Regions from separate parts of the Homo sapiens genome. Here all the other regions are linked to region 5. The links are contacts of gene promoters, found by promoter capture Hi-C in human tissues and cell types (Jung and others, 2019). All regions are on one chromosome and are shown on one strand. The core of a region is centred on a gene start or on the middle of the fragment in contact, and the rest is flanking DNA. Distances in the headings are between cores, read along the strand shown.

Region 1 (3,685 bases), core at 997-3,496, 180 kb before region 5:
GTCACAAATGTTAGGACTCAGCATGATGAAAACCGAAGCCTGCAGTTCACCATCACATCGGATTTAAGAAATTCAAAGAATTCTCCTTCTTTAAAAGAACACAGCCTTGAGATGCACACACAAGGGTAGGACTTGAATTGTTGTCTTCCTGAGCCTTTTTTTTTTCTATCCTTTTCTGTCTCCCAGTCACCAACCATGTTGGGTGTGGGCTCCAGAGATGCTTGGAGTAAATGGCACTGTCCTTGTCATCTCCTGCATGTCTTGGCTCAAATGTTACCTTTTCAGTGAAAACTTCCTGTTCAGCCCTATTTTAAATCACACTTCTTCCCACTTGTTGGGTGCTCCCAATCCCTTTTCTTCTTTCTTCTCCATGGCACTTACCACCATCTGTCAAAGTAGATATGGTATTTAACTTCTTTTGTTTACTGTTAGTGTCTCCCCGCTAGAAAGTAAACTCCTTAAGGGAAAATATTTGTGTCTATTTCGTTAACTGCTATATCTCCTTGATAAGTATTTGTTGAACTGATGAATTACTCTCAAATAACTATTCTGGCCAGGTGCGGTGGCTCATGCCTGTAATCCCAGCACTTTGGGAGGCTGAGGCAGTCAGATCTCTTGAGACCAGTCTGAGCAGCATGGGGAAACCCCGTCTCTACAAAAAATACAAAAATTAGCCGGGCATGGTGGTATGCACCTGTAGTGTCAGCTACTTGGGAATGACAGTAGGGGTTGCTGAAGTGAAAGGATCGCCTGAGCCTGGGAGGTTGAGGCTGCAGTGAGCCAACATGGTGCCACTGCACTCTAGCGTGGCTGACAGAGCAAGATCCTGTCTCAACTGTCTCAAAAAAACGAAACAAACAAACAGAATAACTATTGTATTCTGTATGTCAACTATTCTGTTTATTATTATACATGCTGAATTATTTATGATATACATGTTGAAGTATTTGGGGGGAAGTGTACTGGTGTCTGCAACTTACTTTGAAATGCATACAAAAATAAGATGATTGAGGGCTATAGATAGAGATGAATGAGTGGGTGGATATGTGATAAAGCAAATACAGTAAAAGATAAATTAGAATCCAAGTAGTGGCTATATAGATATTTATTGTACAATTCTTTCCACTTTTGTGTATGTTTGAAAATGTTCATAATAAAATGTTAAATGAAAACAAAAAAATAAAAAAGCAGGCACAAAAAACCAGGTTGGTTTTCTTCAAGTGCTTTCAAGCTAAAAGCTCTAAGTATATAGTGTTTTTCCCAAAGTAATATTTTTCTCTTTTCCCCTTACTCCTATAATCCTCAAACAATAATAAACATGTCTGTGTATTTTAATTCTGAAGCCCAAAAAAGCCATTTTTCTGGGGAAAGAAACCATATACTTAGAACATGTTACTTGCCAAGGTTTTTGTTTGTTTTCTAATGAATACATTGCATTCAATGTAAGATAGAAAAACTTTGTTTAAACATTTGCAATATGTAGTTTAGTGACGTGTAACTTATTTGATTTAGGCCACTGTAGGAACTTGCAAGAGTTGAATGTCTCTGACTGCCCAACATTCACAGTGAGTATAAGCAACCATTTTTACTGCTGTTTATATAGATTGACTTGCTACATTGGGGTGCCAATATGCAGAATAGATGCTTGTGTGCTTATTTGGGATTCAATGTGGAAAAGAGCAAACTATGTTAAACATTGACAAGAAATTTTACTCCATCTGCACAACGCTAATATTAATCATGTAGATGTATGCTCAGTGTTGGAGCCTCTGGCAAGTAGAAATTCTTCAATGACTACCCAAAATGAACTGTATTTATATTTAATGGTATGTGTGTATGAGACAGAAAAAAATTGGGCCCCAGTAGACATGATAGGCTCATTTTATCTTCATGGCTATCAACAGCTGTGCCAAAGAAGATGGAAATGAATATGTTTCCCTAGTTGCTTTCTTCCTGGTTCCTGTCTCCAGTCTTTCCCTCTGTCCCCAACCTGTCTTCCATTCTGTGAGCACTTTATACTCTTTGTAAAAGGCAGATATGACTACTTCACTCTCATCTTCCACCAGCTACACACACTGCCGTCATCTACACAGTTGGATAAAGCCAAAGCTCTTTAATATTACTCTACCTTGAAGACCCTCTGTGGTTTTGCCTCTGCCTCCCTTTCCAGCCTCACTTGTTTCAGTTTCTGTGTACACACTAATTTGCAGTGCCTACAGCTGCTGAGTTTCCTTTTCCTGCATGCTCCAAGTTGCTCCTTGCAGTTGTGCATTTGCTCTTTGCTTAAAATGCCCTTTCCCTTTGTCCCCAAGTGGTGCTTTCCTCTTTATCAAGCTTTAAGTCTTATTATCACCTCTTCTACCAAGACATCACTGGCTCCCAGGGCTGGGTTCACTGCTGCTCCTCTAGGTTCCTATGATAAGTATCCTTAACCATAGGGTTTTGGCTTCCTTCACTAGCCTAAGAGACCCAAAGGGCAGGAGATGTGTCTTGTTCTTTGTGGTAGTCATAGCACAACAGCACGAACTTTGGCATATTATATTCAATAATATTTAGTGAATGCAACTATCTGGAGATACCAAGTAGGCAATGGACAACATTGACTAGAATTGAGATTCCATCTTGGGTTGACATCTATGTATAAGTCATAATTAACATCATAAGCGTGAATAAGATCAACTTAGAAGGTTTGAGAAGAGGAGCAGACTTAAAGTTGAGCCTTACGGAATGCTGACTTTTAGGAACAGAGGATATTCAGAAGGAATAGTAAGAGAAGTAGGTTGACAATGAAGAGGTATCACAAAATGAAAGTGAGTAAAGAGTTTCAGAAAGAACCAAAGTGAACAGGTAAGAAAAGGACTGAACAATGCATTGTAGATTTGAGAATCAGAAGGGACTGCCAATTATTGCTTCAACAGTTTCAGTGGGATATTGGAGCAGAAATCTACTTGCAATGAATTGTGAAGTGGAGAAGAGGTCAGAAGGTGAGGCATTAGGCATAAACTGATCTTTCCAGAAAAGTGTCTTAGAGAGTGGTAGAAGGAAAACAGGGGCAGGGAAATGGAAACAGGTTTATAGAGGATGATGGAGAGTCAGCTGAAGCAACTCATGGAGTAAGTCCCTAACGAGATAGGAGGGAATAGGAGGAAAAGCCTGGCTGTGGAATGCCAATCATGAGGCACCAGCTCCACCATGAAGGCCAAGCCCTCCTCGCTGGTGAAAAGACTGCATGAATTGGCCCCTCCCTGCTACCTCTCAGCCTCATTTTTACAGCCTCATCTTTCTAGTTTTTTCTTTCAAAATTCTACTCTATTTCAATACTGAACCACTTGAAGTTCCCTGTTCATGTCATGCTATTTCATTGTGTCTTTGAACTTGTTTTTCCATCTGCCTAAATGACTACCCTTCCCTCCCCACCACCCCTAGCCCAAACTGGCTAACACCTGTTCATTCTTTAACACACTCTTCAATGCTATCGGGTCTTTCCATTCTCTTTGTTTATTGACCTTTAATAAACAGCTTTATTGAGATATAATAAATTTATATTTATATTGAGATTAAATTTACCCACTTAAAGTGTACAATTTCATGGTTTTGGTATTTTTACAGAGTTGTTTGACCATCACCACAACCAACTTCAGAACATTTCCCTCACCCCTAACAGAACCCATGCCCATCAACAGTC
Region 2 (3,586 bases), core at 800-3,299, 200 kb before region 5:
TGTATTTCTGTGGGATTGGTGGTGATATCCCCTTTATCATTTTTTATTGAGTCTATTTGATGCTTCTCTCTTCTTTATTAGTCTTGCTAGCAGTCTGTCAATTCTGTTGATCTTTTTAAAAAAAAAACTCCTGGATTCATTGTTTTTTTTTGAATGGTTTTTTGTGTCTCTATCTCTTTCAGTTCTGCTCTGATCTTAGTTATTTCTTGCCTTCTGCTAGCTTTTGAATTTGCTCTTGCTTCTCTAGTTCTTTTAATTGTGATGTTAGGGTGTCGATTTTAGATCTTTCCTGCTTACTCTTGGGGCATTTAGTGCTATAAGTTTCCTTCTACACCCTGCTTTAAATGTGTCCCAGATTGTGGTGCGTTGTGTCTTTGTTCTCGTTGGCTTCAAAGAACATGTTTATTTCTGCCTTCAGTTCATTATTTACCCAGTAGTCATTCAGGAGCAAGTTGTTCAGTTTCCATGTAGTTGTGCAGTTTTGAGTGAGTTTGTTAATCCTGAGTTCTAATTTGATTACACTGTGGTCTGAGAGACAGTTTGTTGTGATTTCTGTTGTTTTACATTTGCTGAGGAGTGCTTTACTTCCAATTATGTGGTCAATTTTAGAATAAGTGCGATGTGGTGCTGAGAAGAATGTATATTCTGTTGATTTGGGATGGAGAGTTCTGTAGTTGTCTATTAGGTCTGCTTGTTGCAGAGCTGAGTTCAGGTCCTGGATATCCTTGTTAACCTTCTTTCTTGTTGATCTATCTAATATTGACAGTGGGGTGTTAAACTCTCCCCTTATTATTGTGTGGGAGTCTAAGTCTCTTTGTAGGTCTCTACAGACTTGTTTTATGAATCTGGAAACTCCTGTATTGGGTGCATATATATTTAGGATAGTTATCTTTTCTTGTTGAATTGATTCCTTTACCATTATGTCATGGCCTTCTTTGTCTCTTTTGATCTTTGTTGGTTTAAAGTCTGTTTTATCAGTGAGTAGGATGGCAACCCCTCCTTTTTTTGCTTTCCGTTTGCTTGGTAGATCTTCCCGCATCCCTTTATTTTGAGCCTACCTGTGTCTTTGCACATGAGATGGGTCTCCTGAATACAGCACACTGATGGGTCTTGACTCTTTATCCAATTTGCCAGTCTGTGTCTTTTAATTGGGGCATTTAGCCCATTTATATTTAAAGTTAATATTGTGATGTGTGAATGTTTTCCTGTCGTTATGATGTTTGCTGTTTGTTTTGCCTGTTAATTGATGCAGTTTCTTCATAGCAGTGATGGTCTTTATAATTTGTCATGTTTTTGCAGTGGCTGGTACCGGTTGTTTCTTTCCATGTTTAGTGCTTCCTTCAGGAGTTCTTGTAAGGCAGGCCTGGTGGTGACAAAATCTCTCAGCATTTGCTTGTCTGTAAAGGATCTTATTTCTCCTTCACTTATGAAGCTTAGTTTGGCTAGATAAGAAATTCTGGGTTGAAAATTATTTTCTTTAAGAATGTTAAAGTGCAGTATTTGGGCAGCAGTGCCCCATTTTTCCAGGTAGTCTGTCATGGCTTCCCTTGGCTAGGAAAGGGAAATCCCCCGACCCCTTGTGCTTCCTGGGTGAGGCGATGCTCTGCCCTGCTTTGGCTTTTCCTGTGTGGGCTGCACCCACTGTCCAACCAGTCCCAGTGAGATGAACCAGGTACCTCAGTTGGAAATGCAGAAATCACCCGTCTTCTGCGTCGATCATGTTGAGAGCTGCAGACCGGAGCTGTTCCTATTCGGCCATCTTGGAACACCCCTTGTTTCTCTGTTTTTGTCTGTCCCTCTTTCCCTATAGGTATATGTGTATACACACATATATACACATATGAAATATACATAGAAAATATACTATTAAATACATCTGCATTTTCTGAAGGAAGGAAATGGACTCAAGTTGCAACATTCAGGGTTTCAGTTTGACCTAAGATTTTCATGATAGCAATGGTAGTTGAACAGTGGAATGAGTTTCTGAGAAATAGCAAGGCATGCTTATCTGGAAGCTTTTGTTTATTGAGATACATTTTATGTAACATAAAATTCACCTTTTTAACCATTTTAAAGAGTACAATTCAGTGTTTTTTATTATATTAACAATGTTGAGCAACCAGCACTATTTAATTCTAGACCATTTTCATCAGCCCAAAGAGGAAGCTCATACCCATTCTCCCTTTTTTTTCTTTTCTTACACAATTGCTCATTGAGGAAGCTCCCATATATTCCTACTTCACTGAGTGTTCTTATTATAAAAGGGTGATGGGATTTTGTCAAATGCCTTTTCTAAGTCAACTGAAATGGTTTTCCCCTCTTTCCTTCTATTATTATTGCGTATATTACATTGATTGATTTTTTTTTTCGTCTGTTGAACCACTCTTGAATGCCTGAGATCAGTCTTGCTTGTTCGTACATCATGGTGTATAATCCTTTTAATATGGTGCTGGATTCTCTTTGCTAATATTTTTTGAGGATATTTGCATCTATATTTAAAAGGAATATTACTCTGTAGTTTTTCCTTCTTGTGATGTCTTTGGCTTCCTTGTCAGGATAATATTGGCTTCATCGAATGAGGTAGGAGGTATTTTTTCCTTCTATTTTTTGGGAAGAATTTGAGGATTAATGTTTGGTTTAAAGTTTGAGGATTAAATGTTTGGTAAAATTTGCCCATGAAGCCATCTGGTCCTAGGCTCTCTGTTGGAGGGTTTTTTTGTTTGTTTGTTTGTTTGTTTGTTTTGAGATGGAGTCTCACTCTGTCACCCAGGCTGGAGTTCAGTGGTGCAATCTTGGCTCACTGGAACCTCTGCCTTCTGGGTTCAAGTGATTCTCCTGCCTCAGCCTCCTGAGTAGCTGGGATTACAGGTGCGTGCCACCACACCCAGCTAATTTTTGTATTTTGAGTAGAGACGGGGTTTTGCCATGTTGGCCAGGGTGGTCTAGAACTCCTGACCTCAAGTGATCCACCTGCCTCAGCCTCTCAAAGTGCTGAGATTACAGGAATGAGCCATGGTGCCTGGCCTTGTTGGAGGTTTTTTGATTGCTGATTTAGTATTTTTACTTATTATAGCTCTATTTAGATCTTCTGTTTCTTCTCGAGTCAGTTTTGGTAGTTCATGTGTTTCTAGGCATTTGTCAATTCCATGCAGTTTATCTAATTTGTTGGGGTACAACAGTTCATAATATTCTGTTATGATCCTTTTTACTTCTGTAAAGTCAGTACTAATGTACCCACTTTCATTTCTAATTTTAATAATATTAGTCTTTCCTCTTGTTTTCCTGGTCAGTCTAGGTAAAGGTTTGCAAATTTTGTTGATTGTTTCAAACAACCATTTGGTTCTTTTTTCATTGTTGTAAAAAATATGTAACCTAAAAATTACCATTTTAACCACTTTTATGTGTTCAGTTCTGTAGCATTAAGTATATTCACATTCTTATGCAACCATCATCACTGATGCATCTCCAGAACTTTTTCATCTCACAAAACTGATAGTTTGTACCATTAAGTACTAAATCCGCTTTTTGCCCTCCTCCTAGGTCCTGGCAACCACCATTCTACTTTCTTTCCATCTCTATGAATTTG
Region 3 (4,128 bases), core at 519-3,018, 160 kb before region 5:
CTCCTTCAGGCCCTGCCCACCTAGTCACTGGTGAGTCCAAAGCCTTCCCCCTCGCTCTGTCGAATCTCACGTACACAGCCCTTCCCAGATCGGGATGTGTGTTCTGAATCAAGTAATTCGCTATGGCATGCAAATCATTATATCATATAGATGTGTTTTTCAAAATCTGATTAATGGTCAGTGCTTGTATATCTTATTTCCCATTTATGGGAGGTAAACTTTATTCACCTGTGTGATTTTGAGAGGCAGAGAAGCATTTTCTCCTCACTTTTCATTCTTTTTGCTTTCTAATTTGCTATTAAGCTGTTGCATATCACAAACTAAGAGCATGATTGCTAATTCCATTAGAAGAGCAGATAGTAGTGGGAATCCTTGACCTCTTAAAAAGTGCCAGGCTTTCTGGGCACGGTGGCTCATGCCTGTTCCGAGCACTTTGGGAGGCCAAGGCGGGTGGATCACCTGAGGTCAGGAGTTCGAGGCCAGCCTGGCCAACATGGTGAAACCCTGTCTCTACTAAAAATACAAAAATTAGCTGGACATGTTGGCACGCGCCTGTAATCCCAGCCACTTGGGAGGCTGAGGCAGGAGAATCGCTTGAACCAGGGGTTGGGGGAGTGGGGAGGAGGTTGCAGTGAGCCAAGATCTCACCATTGTACTCCAGCTGGGCAACAAGAGCGAAACTTCGTCTCAAAAAAAAGTTCCAGGCTTTGGAGGGCTTGGGAAATTGTCCACGGAGTGTCCTCAAACTGCGAGCCCTCGTATGGTAGTACAGGCTCATCCTAACTACCCTACTTTTTTCTGGAAGCTGTCATTTTGGTCATTGTGGTAATACCATATTTAATCTGTTTCAACTCCAGCGAGATTTATAGTCTCTGATGTTGCTTTTGATTCTTCTCATGTGTTGCCTGCTTATTTGCAAACTGGTCTTCTTAATCCATGCTTAAACTCTGCATATCAATTAGTCTTTCTTTAACTATAATAATGAAACTGTCACAAACTCATGCATATTTAAACCTATTTTTTAAACTCATTTGCTTATCAGATCTATTTTAAGAGCATGGTCATATTCAGTTTTGCCTTCTGTCCCAAATCCTCACTCTCCTGTAACAGTCTCCATTTAAATGTTTACAAAGGATTTGTCCTTTTATATATTTTGCACATTATTTTGGTACTCCAGAGATAAAACCTAAAAGCAACAATACACTCTGCAAATTTGGTTTCACTTCCAAACAATATGATTGCCTCCCCCACCTCACACACACCAAAAAAGCTTTATCCCAGTCAACTTTCTTAAATATCTAGGCAAATATTATTGAACTATTAATACTTTCACTTGAAATGTATTACAAGGTATTAAATGTATTGTGTGTTACCTTATATAACACTGTAGTCTCCTTTAATTAACAGGTAGAGAGTTAACAGTAAAGTTAAATGTTGAACATCTGCAAGAAGAAGAGTTGAATTTACAGTTTTCTTTGTCATAGTGGCTTAAGAAAGATTTGAGAGAACAACGGAAGTATAATACTTTCCTTCCTCTCTTTTGTCTTTTCAGGCACTTCCACAACTTACAGAATCTTAGTTTGGCTTATTGCAGACGGTTCACAGACAAAGGCTTACAGTACCTGAACTTGGGGAATGGATGCCACAAGCTCATCTATCTGGACCTCTCTGGCTGCACCCAGGTTTGTCTTTCAGTCTTCTCTTTGCTGCGGTGTGTGAGGAAGTTCTCCAGAGAATGGGCTGCATTCAGCCCTCACGTTATACTAATGCTGTGCACGGACCGCAGCACACTTTTCAGAGGTTTTAAATTACATGGCCCCAGCTGCTGAAATTTTCCCCAGGATCGCTATTATAGGCTCTTGGCTTCCTTCCACTGGAGTGTCACACAGACAAACAGGCAGAGCTCATTGGATGAGGAAACGGACCACTTTTGTGGAGACAGTCTGAGCACAAGTCTAAAGCAGAGTCCAAGTCCTGAAAACTCTGGAGTTGCTACCAAGACACAAACAAAGAGAATGTTTTGAGGGAGAATTTTGCATGGGATTCCTGAAAAGTCAATTAACTCCCACATGGGTTTTTTTTTGGGGGGGGGGGGGTAAAATGCTATAAGTGATAAATAGGAAAAGAAAATACAACAAAAACTCATAATTTAAAAAATTGCATTACACCGTTGGGCTGAATAACATGAAGATTTGAGATCTGCGTGGGAAAATATTTTAAGTTTGAGGGAACAGGACTTGGAAAGTTGGGCAGAAAATTGGATCAAGTTGCAGAGGATAGGGCATGGCGCTTTGGATGTAGCTACTGCCTCATTGATAGTTTCTTCTGCTTTAATTTCAAAAGATTTAAGCCATAATTCTTTTAACTTATTTTCTTCTGCCTCTCTGTGTATTTTATTAATTTGGTGTCATAGTATGTTCATTATTCTATGAGAATAATAGCATAGGTGAGAACTGGCTGAAATATTGATAGTTATCATTTCTTGAGTCATTACCATATGCCAAGCATTGTGTTGAGTGCTATACACAGATCAGATTTACTTCTGATACAGTGCTGTGGTGGTATGTATTTACTATGCTTATTTACAAATGAAGAGACCAAGGCTCAGGGTGGTTGAATAAGTTGCCCAAGTTTGCACAGCTGATGAAAGCACATGGTACTAGTACAGTTTTAAGCATCTGTTGCTAGATACTGGGGCAGGCAGAGTTCCCTGGGATAGTGGGAAATACAGGGGCAGCATGGGTTTCTCCCCCAGGGTTCTTGAATGGATAGAATTCTTACCTAGTCACCTCCACTGACATCTTGTGGTATCCTGATGCCCTGGGTGGTCTGGAGGGAGTTGGGGCAAGGAGGGGAGGATTCTAAGTTAGGGCTGTAAACATCTAACATTCATATTTGTTTAAAACTGATCTGCTGATGTGTAGCTTTTTAAACATCAACATCTACCATAACTTTATGACTGAGATGGCATTGACGTTCTCCTCAGCATGACTGAATTTTAGACCAGCTTCTTACTGACTCTAGGCCCTGACTTCTTGTTTTCTTGTTTCTTAGAGCATTTGTTTTAGAAAACTTGGAATTATAAGTTCTTTCTCTGCCTACTTTGAGATGTCTTTTTAACAAAAGCTTCTTGACAGTTTTACAACTCAGGAAAGTCTTCCTCAAGGACCTGGGATCTATCCCTTTGATATATAATCATCAAAGAAGATATCTCTCAGTTCCTGTGGGTGGGTAGAAGCCTAACTTTGATGGGCACCAATTAGCAAATGCCAATGGCCCAATCACAGAGAAAAATATTTGCAAACTCAGGAACAACTTAATGTGCTTGACATATCCCACTGATAAGCCTGCCCCTTAACTATAAATCCTTCAGTACTTTTCTAACTCGCCGTTGTGCTTAAACCCTCCTCATGGTATGACTTACCTCCTTCTTCTTATCAATTTCTCAGTTACCATGAGGCAATTATTGTAGCAACAACACACAAATGTATACACAAGTGTCCTAAGGATAAATATTCTCAGACACAGTAAAGTTGAAATGAGAGGCTTCAAATCTATGACCTACTGCCCAGATATGCATACAAAACACACATAATTGGAGGAGGTGAAGCAAGATGGTGGAACAGAAGGCTCCACCCATTGTTCCCCACCCAAGGACACCAAGTTAACAACTATCTACAGAGAAAAAACACCTTTGTATGCTTTTAGGCTGGGCGCGGTGGCTCATGCCTGTAGTCCTGGCATTTTGGGAGGCTGAGGCAGAAGGATTACTTGAGGCCAGGAGTTCAAGACCAGCCTAGGCAACATGGTGGGACCCACGTCTCTACCAGAAATGCAAAAAATTGGCCAGGCATGGTGGTGCATGCCTCTGGTCCCAGCTGCCTGGGAGGCTGAGGTGGGAGGATTGACTGAGTTTGGGAGATTGAGGCTGCAGCGAGCTGTGATCCCACCACTGCGTTCCAGCCTGGGAGACAGAGTGAGACCTTGCCTCAAATAATTAAGTAAATTTGTTAATGCTTTTCTCTTGCACGCCTGTATTTTGTTAGGAGTGTTGGCTGTCACCCTTATGGGTGAAAAAAGGTATCATACCTTTCTGCCCCATGGTACTAACAGGACAGAGACCTCAGG
Region 4 (3,721 bases), core at 416-2,915, 150 kb before region 5:
TGGAATCTTTCTACAGATATCTTCGTGGTTAACTTCCTCTAAGTCTTTCCTTAAATATTCCCATGAATGAATGGATAAAATGTACTAGCTAAAATGCTCCAAGGAGATTCACATTAGTTCCCAGTTCATTTCAGAGCTCTCTAAAATATGTCCGTGTTTCTCTTGGAGTCTCAGAATGGAAAATATGAGTAGGAGAAAGAGTTTTAATGGGGAGAACAAAGCTATCCTACTTGTACATGAGAAAGTGCCAATTGGGAGGGTGATGATTCCTGGTTTTACTTTCCCTTTATCCTCTGCTCTGTTTATGTGTAACTCCAACAATTCTCCCATTGACATTATCATGGGGTAGCCACTTTCCCTACAGATTCATGTATCTTCAACTGTGTGCAACGATGGGTTATGGCCCTCTGCAGGAAGCCAGGCATGGAACAACCAGACATGCTGGGAAGCAAGGCTGAGGCCCACTCAAGCTCAGGTTCAAGCCCAAATGCCTAGAAACCAACAACTCTGAATGTGGAGTTGGAGAAGAAGCTGGATGAAAAGTGAGGAGTTTGGACCGTGTTTCAGATTTATATGTTTACATTTAGGATAGTGAAACCAGACAGTAGGGGAGCTTGCCATAGGGGTTTCTGCTTCGGTGCCTCCCCTGTTCTTCATTTCCAGCCTCAGTTGTTTCACTAGGCTCACCTTTTGCCCTCTGCCTGGACATCCTGCTACTGTCCCTTTCCTCCATTCACCACATTAACTTGCACTTATCCTTCAAGGTTCTGTTCAATCACAGCCTTCTCTAGAAGGGCCTCACTAAGCCGTTCCTTGCCCTATTCCAAGCTGGGTTAGTATCCCTCTTGTGTATACTTTTATCATTGTACTTTTCACTAAGCATTCTCTACATATTCAATTATCTGCTTGCTTGTCTGCTCTCCTTCCCAAGGTAAGCTCTTTGAAAACAGGGATGGTGCCTTATATAATTGTGTATCTGTATCCTTAGCAAATAATACAATACCTGGCTCATAGTAGGACTTTGATAAGCTTGACAAATGAATGAATGAGACTGTGGCCAATTTCAGGGCATGCCTCCCCAGGTGCTTCAGGTGGAAGCTCAGGATGCCTGTTACGTAGTGGGAAGTTGGTAACTTGCTAGAGCAAGGCTTGATGATCTCTTTTCTTGGTAAGGTCAAGTCTGATATTTCTTTAAATTTACAGAAAGAAAAGTGCCTAGGAAGCTATGAAATATAAAATGAAAGTATTTTCTCTCTCTCTCTCTCTTTTTTTTTTTTTTTAAGAGACAAAGTCTTTCTCTGTGACCCAGGCTGTAGTACAGTGGTGTGATCATAGCTCACTGTAGCCTCAAACTCCTGGGCTCAAGGGATCCTCCTGCCTCAAGCCTCCCAAGTAGTTGGCATTACAGGCGCATGCTACCAAGCCTGGTTAATTCTTTTCAAATTTTTTTTCTAGAGACGGGTCTCAATATGTTGTCCAGGCCAGTCTAAAACTCATGGGCTCAAGCAATCCTCCCACCTCAGCCTCCCAAAGTGCCAGGATTACAGGCATGAGTCACCATGTGCACTCTATTTTTTCACCAATTATATTTTAATCACTATACACAAATCAACAAAAAATGAAAAGGGACAGTATTCTAGGAATGTTCAAATGATTATAATACTCAATGCAGTAATAATGGCTTATCAGTTCTTGTACTGTTAAATCTCTCTAGAGCCCACGAAACTTAAAGGTAGGCTGTACAAACTGCAAACTGGAAGATTCCAAGGTCATTTCAGTTCTCTCTAGGTTACATAAATTCCAACCTTCTCCTTTCAGAGAAGCAGAGATCATGGAAGGTCTTACTTGTTCACCCCTGGGATTTGTGTTGGAGGTTGGAGAAAGCCACACAGGCATGTCCAGGGATGAATGTACTAGCCAAATTGAATGGAGATTGCATAAGCAAAGCAAGAGTCAGGGGAGGAATTTCTTTGTCTCTTTCTTTTCTTTTCTTTCCTCTTTCTTTTCTTTCCTCTTTCTTTCTTTCCTCTTTCTTTCTTTCTTTCTCTCTTTCTTTCTTTCTTTCTTTCTCTTTCTCTGTCTCTCTCTCTCTTTCTTTCCCCTCCCTCCCTTCCTTCCTCTCTTTCTTTTTCTTTCTTCCTCTCCGCCTCTCTTCTCTCCCTTCGCCTTTCCCTTCCCCTTCTTCTCCCCCTCCCCCATTCCCTCCTCATCCTTCTCCTTTCTTTCTTTTTTTTTTTTTTTTTGAGACAGAGTCTTGCTCTGTCACCCAGGCTGGAGTGCAGTGGTGTGATCTCGGCTCACTGCAAGCTCCACCTCCCAGGTTCACACCATTCTCCTGCCTCAGCCTCCCCAGCAGCTGGGACTACAGGTCCCCGCCACCACACCTGGCTAATTTTTTTTGTATTTTTAGTAGAGATGGGGTTTCACTGTGTTAGCCAGGATGGTCTCAATCTCCTGACCTTGTGATCCGCCCGTCTCGGCCTCCCAAAGTGCTGGGATTACAGGCGCGAGCCACCGCGCCCAGCCTCTCCTTTCTTGAAGTTAGGAGACCTGGGATCTATTTCTTGTTATGCTACTAACCAGTTGTGTAACCTTGGAGTTACTTGGTTTTTCTGCCTCGATTCCTTCACCTGTAGAATGGCTAGGCTGGGCTAAATAACCTCTAAGGTCTTTTTCAGCTTTAGGATTTTGTGTTTCTAAATGGTAACTAGACAAGATAACCAAAAAAGGAGCAAGATTGGAGAAAAAAGAATAGTGAATCTTATTTTGGAAAGGCCAAATTTCAGGTTGCTGTGATACATCTGGGTACAAATGACAAGAACAAATTGGAAGTAGAAGTCTGGTCCTTGGAAGAGAGCTGGGAGTGAAGGTATAGATTTGGAAGTCTGTCAATAAACGTTAATTGGAACAACAAGAGTTTTGTGACCAGCTAAACCAGTTGTGAATGACCAGATTATGTATCAAAATGAATTGGAAACAGTTAAATTCAAAACTGTGATGCACTTATATTTGGCTGATTCCATTTTCCTTTATTGTATGGAATAATAAAGGGCAGGAAAAGCCTGACTTTTTAGTGTTGGCTGAATTCTATGGTGTAAATACTCTCACCATGGCCTATTTTAAGCTACCAACAGGAAGTTGGGAAGAGATATGCAGTAGCACATTATTGTGTAATATTCTAGAGAAATGATAGACATTAATATCCTCAAGAACATAGATAATGCTAATGTGGTAAAAATGAGGAAGTGACACATTTTGAGTATGTACTACCTTGGTTTTTAATATAAGAATATCATTTGTGAAACTAAAGTGCTATACTACATATGGTTAAAAAAATTGTTGCATTTTGTATTTGAAAAAATATGTGGTTTTAAGTATCATTTAATAAGGAGGAGTTCTAGTGGAAAAGTAGTTATGAGTCAAAAAAATCACAGTGCAATTCCTGCTTTTCTGGGTCAGTTATTGTGCCTCAGTTTCCCTGTTAGAGGAATGGTTTGTGTCCTTTCTGAACCAGACTTCAACCTGTGTTGAAAAAAAATTGTAGAATTTATGAAAACATTTTTATATATCTTGTAAATCGGACTTATATAAATTTAAATGGTTGTTAAAATTATTCATTGGAACATAACAGTTATGTTCATAGTGAAAATTAAAAATTAAAGAAAGTAACAAACACCTATTGTTTAACATCCACAGCTTAATATAATCTCTTTGTAGGCAA
Region 5 (3,625 bases), core at 938-3,437:
CCAGCACTTTGGGAGGCCGAGGAAGGAGGATTGCTTGAAGCCCAGGAGTTCAAGACCAGCCTGGACAATGTAGCAAAACTCCATTTCTACAAAAAAACAAAAACATTAGCCGGGCATGGTAGCATGCACCTGTAGTCCCAGCTACTCAGGAGGTGGAGGCGAGAAGATTGCTTAAAACCGTGAAGTCAAGACTGCAGTGGGCCATGATTGTGCACCTGTACTCCAGCCTGCGTGGCAGAGTGAGTGAGATGCAGTCTCAAAAAAAACCAAAACAAACAAACAAAAAACCCCACAAGATTGTGGACAAATGGCAGTGGTATATGAAGCAAGTTTGGAAAATAAGGAATTACAAATGCCATCCTTGGCTGTCTATTTAAGATGTAACTGCAGGCATCTCTGTATACAAATTTTAAAAATTAAAAACGCTGATATTTAATTTGGAATTAACATAAATATTGATGATTTCTCTTAAAGTAGGCAAGACCCGCCCCCCCACTTGATTCCTGAAACCACAAATAGTACCAAATCCTATATATTCTATGTTTTTTCCTGTATACATATCAATGATCAAGTTTAATTTATAAACTAGGCATAGTAAGAGATGAACAATAATAACAAATACAGCAATTATAACAATATACTGTAATAAAAGTTATATTACTGTGATCTGTCAAAATATCTTAATATTTTCCTACAACAGCTGAGGCAGGTAACAAACTGAGACAGCCAAACGGTGGATAAGGGAGGACTACGGCATCTACTATTTGGGCAACTCTAAGCATTATAAAAGATGATCTTAAAAATGCTAAATGCTATTATTATTACTATCATCATCATCATCAATATCTTCCATCAGTCCCAGGAAGAATGACAGTCTGGGGAGCCCTTCCTAGAAAAGTGTGTGTACACAGTGGCTTGCCATTTAGGAAAAGCTAAGAAAGGTATCTTGCAGGCATTATTATTGAAGCTTCCTAGGCAGGCTTACCATGTGTTTTTCTTCAAAGCTTGCTACTCATGGAAAACTTAGGCCAAAAAGAATGGAAATATAACAGTAAGAAGCTGGGCGCCCGTCTAAAACCAAATACTCAAACCAGGTGATACCCGGAACATCCTATTGACAGGGCTGTTTTGGGACAGACCCCCAGGCTGTGAGCAAGATGAAATGTAGATGGACTGCCATACCATTGAATGAATTGTCAAGAAACTTCAACCTTGAAAAATAAGCCAGTTTGCTAATGACAACGGGATAAAGGAGAACACAAGCGGCTCCAGAAATAGAATTTGACCTGGATTATACCAAATCATGTTTCCATTCGATGTATAAAATTTCTATAATTGGGAACCTAATTTTTAAATACTACTCGGACACTCAAGAACAGAACAGAGGAAAAGGTGCATTTCCGAAGGGGCCAACTGTAAATTAGGTTTAGAGAGCCAGGACCAATTAAAAGTGCACGTCGACCACATTTATTAAGTTCACTGTGCGTTCCCTGGGACCCAAACCCGTTTTCACTTCACTTCACTTGCCAAACTTCAGGGGCGCGTTCACCTCCACGGACGCCTGGGGGTGGATAGTATCAGACACAATGGCCATCTCCTCCAGATCCTCGTCGTACTTCACCTGCAGGCCGTCCAGGCCCCGCACGCCGCCCTCCACGCCGCACACCGCGACCAGCACGCGGTCGCCATCCGGGTAGGTGAGGGGGTCCAGGGGCCTCACGGCCAGGTGGCACGGGAGCCGCGCCCGCAGCCGACCAAACGGGCTCACCTGCAGTGTCCACTCCTTCAGAGTTCGGCGCCCCGGGCCAGGCGGAGGGACCTCAGTCTCCGATCCGGGCCAGCGCTCGCTCCCACCTGAGCTGTACGGCCTGGCTTGGCAAGCCCAGCAAGCCCAGCGCCCAGCGCCAGCCCACAGTCGGACCTGACGGAGACAGAGACGGAAGCAGCCAAGCTCCCAACCTGAGCAGGGGGCAAGCATGGCGCGCCTCTCTCGCCAGTCCTCAGAACACTTCAGCCACAGGGAGGGTCACTTGCCACGGCCAATCGACTTGGCCACTGTGCCGCCTCAAGTCAAATAGGAGACGTAAGTCAGGGTTTGCTGAAACAAGAGCGAGCCGGTTGGCTTGACTAGGCGTTCTAAACATCAGCCGCGCAATCCCCAGGGGCAAGTTGGGATTTGAAAGCTCTAAACTCTGACCTGGACCCCTTGCCTAAGTCCACCCCCTTTCGCTAAGGCCGACGGGATAGGTAGTTCTAAGTCGCAGAGCTCTGCCTCTTAGAAACCACATTTCCCAGGAGGCAATGCGCAGGGGAGCACGGGTAAGAGGGTAGGTGTTAGAATCGCTGGAAAGGCGGGCGCCCTTTGTCTCAAGACCATTGGCTATTGGAGGGGCGGTACATGGGAGTCCACTGGCCAATGGGAAGCACGGAAGGGGCAACGCGGGTAAAGCTGCGTGGTCACCTTGGATACCAAGCACGCGACTTCTTGGTTGGAGAGGGTGGAGCTTTGGAGTGAGACCCAGGACGCCAAATCCCAAAGAGAAAAATAGGAGCCTAAATAAGGATCAGGACCAAGGGAAGGGGTAAGAAACTGCGCTTTTTAAGATGACAACTAGGTGCAAACTAGGAGTAACCTCTGTGGATGTCAACATCCAAGCTTCACTAACTTAGTGAGGGCATCTCCAGGGCATGGAGAATGCCTTGGTAAGAAAGTAAAGAGCAAGATTGGTGCTTTTTGAGGGAATTGCCTCTTTGGAAGTGTATTCCCTCCTATATTCCAAATATAGGAATAGAGTACTTGCTCCGTCCTGACCCTAAGTGACCTTACTTTGGGTTTTAATTTGCTCACTTTAAAAATGTAGATAATAATACCTTCCTTGCCTTGCCTCAAAGGGTTTTTGTAAGGATCAAGTAAGAAAATGGATGGGACCGTGGTGCACAGTCTACAAAATTACCGTGTAAAGAACTGTATTTTTATTTCAACGTACTTAACATTGATTCTGAGTTACCAAGAAAATTATGAGAGATCAGAACTTGTTTTGAGAATAGCATTGATCTCTTTGACTACAAATGATCCTCAGTTTTAGAGTGAAAAAAAAAAAAAAGACACAAAAAAGAGAGTCACCATGGTGCGGTGGAAAGAGCAGGGACAAGGGTCAGGTTATTTTCCTGGCTCTGCCACTGCTTCATCTGTGTCACCTAGACCTGTTTCTTTAGTTTTAAAATGAAGAAAGATGGTTCTAAATGACCCTATAAGGGGTGTGTGTGTGTGTGTGTGTGTGTGTGTGTGTGTGTTTACCTTTTATAATTCTATAGGCAGTAAAATAATGGGAACAGAAAGATTTATTTTCTTCTTTTTTCTTTTTTTCTTCTTTCCTGCCTGGTTTCTCTCTCCCCCTCTGTGCCCCTACTTCCTCCTAAAATGTATTCCCTAAATTATTTAGCCAAGACACCTGCAAACACTAACATTTCATAAAATGCAAGTGCCTTAAAAAATAGAAGCCCTTACCCAAGTACAATGACCAGAATTCTTGGGGCTATCGTGATAGATAGACTGGGCTAAAGTTCTCATGGGTACAAGTCTCAGGTTCTCTGCTAGCCACTACCTTTTTAAAATTTTTAAAAA
Region 6 (4,079 bases), core at 1,177-3,676, 240 kb before region 5:
GCTCTTTCCCATGCCTTCCCTGGTCCTATGATCTTAAATTTCTTTCTTTCTATTGATTTATTCCTTCATGTCTAAAAATGTGTTTGACTCACTCCTTTCCTATAAATCATTTCTCAATGCTGCTAAGTATTCTATTTTTCTCCTGTTATGTGTTGGCAGACTTCTTGACACTACCTCCCACCTGCCCACTGTGACACTCAAAAACTGCTTTAAACAGTCTCTACCTGGGTGTTCCAAAGGCACAAGCCAATTCATCATTACCAAAACAGAACTCATCATTTTCTTCCTCCAACCTTCCTTTTCCCCCATATCCTGTCCAACCCTGTCTCTTGTATCCTGTTTCTCAATGAATGGCACTATCATCTACTCAGCTGACTTGGCCAGAATTTGGAAATATCTTTGACTTCTCTCTTTTACCCCCTACTGCATATTTTTTTCTTTTTAGCATGTAATTTCACTTTCTTTCTTCTCTCCATTCTCTCTGGCACTCATTGTCTATTAGTGACATTACTATCAAATTCAAAGCTACTGAATTTGTCTTCTGGCATCTACTCTTGACTGTTGACTTTGACCACCTGACTTATTTTTCATTTGTCCACCAGAGTTGTCTTTCTCAGATCACATTTATTCATGTCACTTCCTGGTTAAAATCTCTCCTGAACTCTGTTGGCTTTAACATGCTGCATGAGGATTTCCAGTTCTAGCCTCCACTACCTCTCAGCTGCATTCTCCATCATTGCTCCAGACGAGCCCTTGGCTGTAGCCATGTGGAGTTACTCCATGTTACCCAAGTTCAAGGCACCCTCTCTGGCCATATGCCTTCACCCATCACGTGCTCTCTTTGTAGGCTCTCTCCTCTTCTTCCTTGCCCTACTCAGTCCTGCTTAGGCTCAGCTCAGATGTCATCTCTTCCAGAAAGGCTACCTTTGATCCTCTGTCCTCTCTCTCAGTCTTGGTTAGTTACCCTTCCTCTCTGTTCCCAGAGTCCCTCTTGAGATACTTTTTACTCTCTTATAATGGCCTATTTTGTGTTTTCTTCTTGGACTATATGTGCCTTGAGGACAGGGACAGTGTCTTACCTGCTTTGAATTCACAATCTGTAGATGCCCAATAAATATTGGTTGAATGATCGAATGAAAAATGATGTTTTCTTTTCAGCTCCACTATTACAAACTTGGTCTCATCAAGGTCCCAGGAATTTCTTAATCATCAAATCTGATTGCCTATGATCCCTTCTTGTCTTGCTTTTTCAGTAGCACTTGATTCTGGGCTTCTGTGGCATGACATTTCCTGTTTCTTTTCTCTGGGAATTATTTCTCTATCCTCAGGATAGGTTTCTTGCTCTCTCCTCACACCCAGATGTTGGCTCTGGTCTGACTGTACCTCCAGATGTTGGCTTTGGCTCTCTCTCTTTGCCCTACATTCTTACTAGGTCATGGCAGTCACAGCTAGGCTTTCACCCACCACTCTCTGGTGTCGGCATTGCTTTGGAATCATGATAAGGACATTTCCAATTTACCTATTATTTGGAAACTTTAACCTTTTAAATCTTGATGAATGTGAAGCCAGTGCTACTTATGATGTGCAGTAATGTCGGGAGAGTCAACTGGTTTTGGGGAAAGAGAAACTTAATTTTGGATTCAGTGAATTTGAAATGTCAATGAGACATTAAGTTAGAAGGTCCTAGAAGTATCTGAAAAGTAAGAGTCACTGAATTCTACATATACAGCAATTTTAGAGTTATGTGATCCAACCTCTTTTACAGGAAAATATTCCTCACAGATGTTCTTGAGGTTTTAGAGGGCACCCTCTTCCGTATCTGAGTTTGGAACCAATTGAGAAATAGAGAGATGGAAGTGGACATATTTTCTGATACAGCTGATAGGAGACTATGACTTAAGATCACTGACAAAGGATACTACTTCATTCTTTCATCCCTGAATCAGATAGACTCGCCCCTCGGTCACTGCACAGCTGAACAACTGCAGGCCTCCCTATGCTGCTGAGAGCAGACCAGGATGCATGCATCTTGCATTCAGGTCAAGGCAGGGTGGAGCAGGAGCTGAATTGCAAGCCTAGTTCTTTCTCCCAAACACTCCTCCTCTTCTCCTGGGAAGATATGAGGGGTAGAGAGAGAGAGGCCCAGAGTGTTTCTAAAGTGTTTCTAGATAGAGATGTGAGGCCAAGGCAATGAAACGTCTCCATTAGCAGTAATGTTTATCCAGCATTTGGTCTAGTACTTTCTGTGCTGGAGAGTCTGTTGACTTTGCGATGCATTCTGTTCTGTCTTGGGAAAGATCAGATAATTAGAAAGTTGTCCTTCAGATCAAAGCAGAGAAAGCGGCCTCATTATCTTTTGTTTCTAGTTCCTTCTTCTGCATTCACAAGGAAGATCAAATTTGTCAATTATTCATGCAAAGCTTTCATTTTATTTTCTAGTGCTTTTGTGGTTACTTGTTTCCAGTTTACTCAATTGTTTGTTCCTCTGTGAGTTTCTAGTCTCAGCCCTCCCTGTCCCCATCCCTGCTACTCCCTTGGCTGCTGTCTTCTAAGAATTCTGTTTGTAGCTTCCTCATAAAGTGGGCTGGGCCACGTTTTCTCCCTCATTCTGAGTGGTCTCACCTTCTGAAGGGCAAGGAGCTCTCCAGGTTATAGCTTGCCTGGATCTCTTCATACCCTTATACTGAGCTCCCTCATTATTGTGTCTGGGGTTTCTCTTTAAGTAGCAATGTGAGAGAAAACTACACAAGATAATGTGAATATGTAACCACATGATTTATTACTTAACACAGTCAGATCAGAATCAGTGGGATAAGCAGCCTAGGGTGTCCCTTGAGCACCCAGGTTCAAGTTAATCCTTTTACATGGAAAGCGCTTTCTTCTGCGTAGAGATACCCAGGTCATTTAAGACTCTACACCAGTTTTGGTTCTGCATGATGAAGGAGTTCTTTGCCTGAGCAGTAGGGAGTAGAGAATGCTCTGTGCTGAGACTCCTAAGTCCCCACTGTGTTCTTGGCTACATTCATCCTTGGGGTTAAAAGAGTGTATACCGTTCTACATTTCTGCCCTCCCACTTTGTTTTGTTTTTCTTTTTCCCTTCAATATGGCTGATCTGTTTGGGTTTTTCCAAATTTTCTAATTTATCTTCTATTTTCATTACCATTTTTGCTGCTGCTCTGCATCTGCTATACAACGGCTTCCTTCTCCAATTAGTTCTTCATACTCAGCAGTGTCTGGAGGTGGAAAAAAATATTCCAAGTGTTATCTGATTAGTGCAGCATCCAGTGCAAGTATCATCCCCGCCCCTTAAAGTGGACATTCCTGAGCATATCTTTACCCTTCATTGAAGCAGTGCTAGCTAGACTGACCACTGACCTGCAATAGCTTCTTCAGCATTAATTCTCTCTGGAAACTCATCCTCAGTGACAGTACTCCCACTTGGTTTTCTGTTCACCTTTTTGATCACTTCTTTTAGGATTCCTTTAGGATAACATATCCCCATTGCCTTCTTGTATCATGGTGTTTGTAAGGACTCTGTCATTGTTTCTCTGTTCTTCTCATTCCATCTTCACTCCCTGGGTGATTTCAAATACATGCTTTAGGTTATAGTTATATGCTGTTTACTCACGATTGCCAAATCTGTGTATCTCCAGCCATCACTCTCTTGTAAGACCCAGGTCATTTAACAATGCCTGCTGGGTAACTCCACTGGAATATTTCATAGCATCTACCCCCTAGCGTGTTCAGCTTGAAGCCGTTACTTCCCCACCTCTCTTATGGGACTACTCCCCACCCCTCTGTATTCCTGGGCTTTCTTGGTAAATGGTGTCATCACTTGTCATCCAAATTAGAATTGTGGGAATCATCCTGGACTTCTCCTTTTAAAAAAAATTCTCCACGTCCCATTAGTGATTAGTGTATGATACCCACTCAAGATGCGTTTTCATTTAGGAATAAATATAAAGTGGGATTTCACATTATTTCAAGTTTTGCCATATAGTGAGGCTTATGTTTTTATTTCACTATTTTAAATCCACCAAATTCAAATTCGTATAAAATGCATCCACACTACCCTAAGA

What was found. The method cuts DNA at HindIII sites, captures the fragments that hold promoters and counts their contacts. A contact is called where the count stands out against the background at its distance.
Region 1: a fragment that was not itself captured here is called in contact with the fragment with the promoter of FAM185A in region 5 in 7 of the 25 tissues and cell types used here (H1 embryonic stem cells, IMR-90 fibroblasts, aorta and 4 more).
Region 2: a contact is called between a fragment that was not itself captured here and the fragment with the promoter of FAM185A in region 5, in 2 of the 25 tissues and cell types used here (H1 embryonic stem cells and mesenchymal stem cells).
Region 3: a contact is called between the fragment with the promoter of LRRC17 here and the fragment with the promoter of FAM185A in region 5, in 3 of the 25 tissues and cell types used here (IMR-90 fibroblasts, aorta and mesenchymal stem cells).
Region 4: a contact is called between a fragment that was not itself captured here and the fragment with the promoter of FAM185A in region 5, in 4 of the 25 tissues and cell types used here (H1 embryonic stem cells, IMR-90 fibroblasts, aorta and 1 more).
Region 6: a contact is called between a fragment that was not itself captured here and the fragment with the promoter of FAM185A in region 5, in 5 of the 25 tissues and cell types used here (IMR-90 fibroblasts, aorta, mesenchymal stem cells and 2 more).

The regions. Positions count from the first base shown.
Region 1 is chr7:102,929,761-102,933,445 of GRCh38, reverse strand. It overlaps FBXL13 (F-box and leucine rich repeat protein 13), which reads left to right. Exons shown (of 21, transcript NM_001394494.2): 10 at 1,513-1,565. All of the region lies in intron 1 of LRRC17 (leucine rich repeat containing 17), which reads right to left. Among named protein-coding and RNA genes, the nearest start is that of LRRC17, 19 kb to the right of the region's middle. The HindIII fragment of the contact is 7,115 bases long and covers 1-3,685 here.
Region 2 is chr7:102,952,141-102,955,726 of GRCh38, reverse strand. The region is part of intron 9 of FBXL13 (F-box and leucine rich repeat protein 13); the gene reads left to right. Among named protein-coding and RNA genes, the nearest start is that of NFE4, 19 kb to the left of the region's middle. The HindIII fragment of the contact is 3,113 bases long and covers 493-3,586 here.
Region 3 is chr7:102,910,640-102,914,767 of GRCh38, reverse strand. LRRC17 (leucine rich repeat containing 17) reads right to left here and starts at 1,768. Exons shown (of 4, transcript NM_001031692.3): 1 at 1,623-1,768. It overlaps FBXL13 (F-box and leucine rich repeat protein 13), which reads left to right. Exons shown (of 21, transcript NM_001394494.2): 12 at 1,553-1,682. The HindIII fragment of the contact is 8,626 bases long and covers 1-4,128 here.
Region 4 is chr7:102,892,290-102,896,010 of GRCh38, reverse strand. The region is part of intron 12 of FBXL13 (F-box and leucine rich repeat protein 13); the gene reads left to right. Among named protein-coding and RNA genes, the nearest start is that of LRRC17, 19 kb to the left of the region's middle. The HindIII fragment of the contact is 7,461 bases long and covers 1-3,721 here.
Region 5 is chr7:102,747,561-102,751,185 of GRCh38, reverse strand. It overlaps FAM185A (family with sequence similarity 185 member A), which reads right to left and starts at 2,187. Exons shown (of 8, transcript NM_001145268.2): 1 at 1,528-2,187. The coding sequence starts at 1,978. It also overlaps the pseudogene RASA4DP. RefSeq lists silencers at 2,198-2,367, 2,408-2,497 and an enhancer at 2,170-2,464. The HindIII fragment of the contact is 9,642 bases long and covers 1-3,625 here.
Region 6 is chr7:102,987,529-102,991,607 of GRCh38, reverse strand. All of the region lies in intron 7 of FBXL13 (F-box and leucine rich repeat protein 13), which reads left to right. It overlaps NFE4 (nuclear factor, erythroid 4), which reads right to left. Exons shown (of 3, transcript NR_166512.1): 2 at 3,376-3,575; 3 at 2,755-3,233. Among named protein-coding and RNA genes, the nearest start is that of NFE4, 16 kb to the right of the region's middle. RefSeq lists an enhancer at 1-92. The HindIII fragment of the contact is 5,278 bases long and covers 1-4,079 here.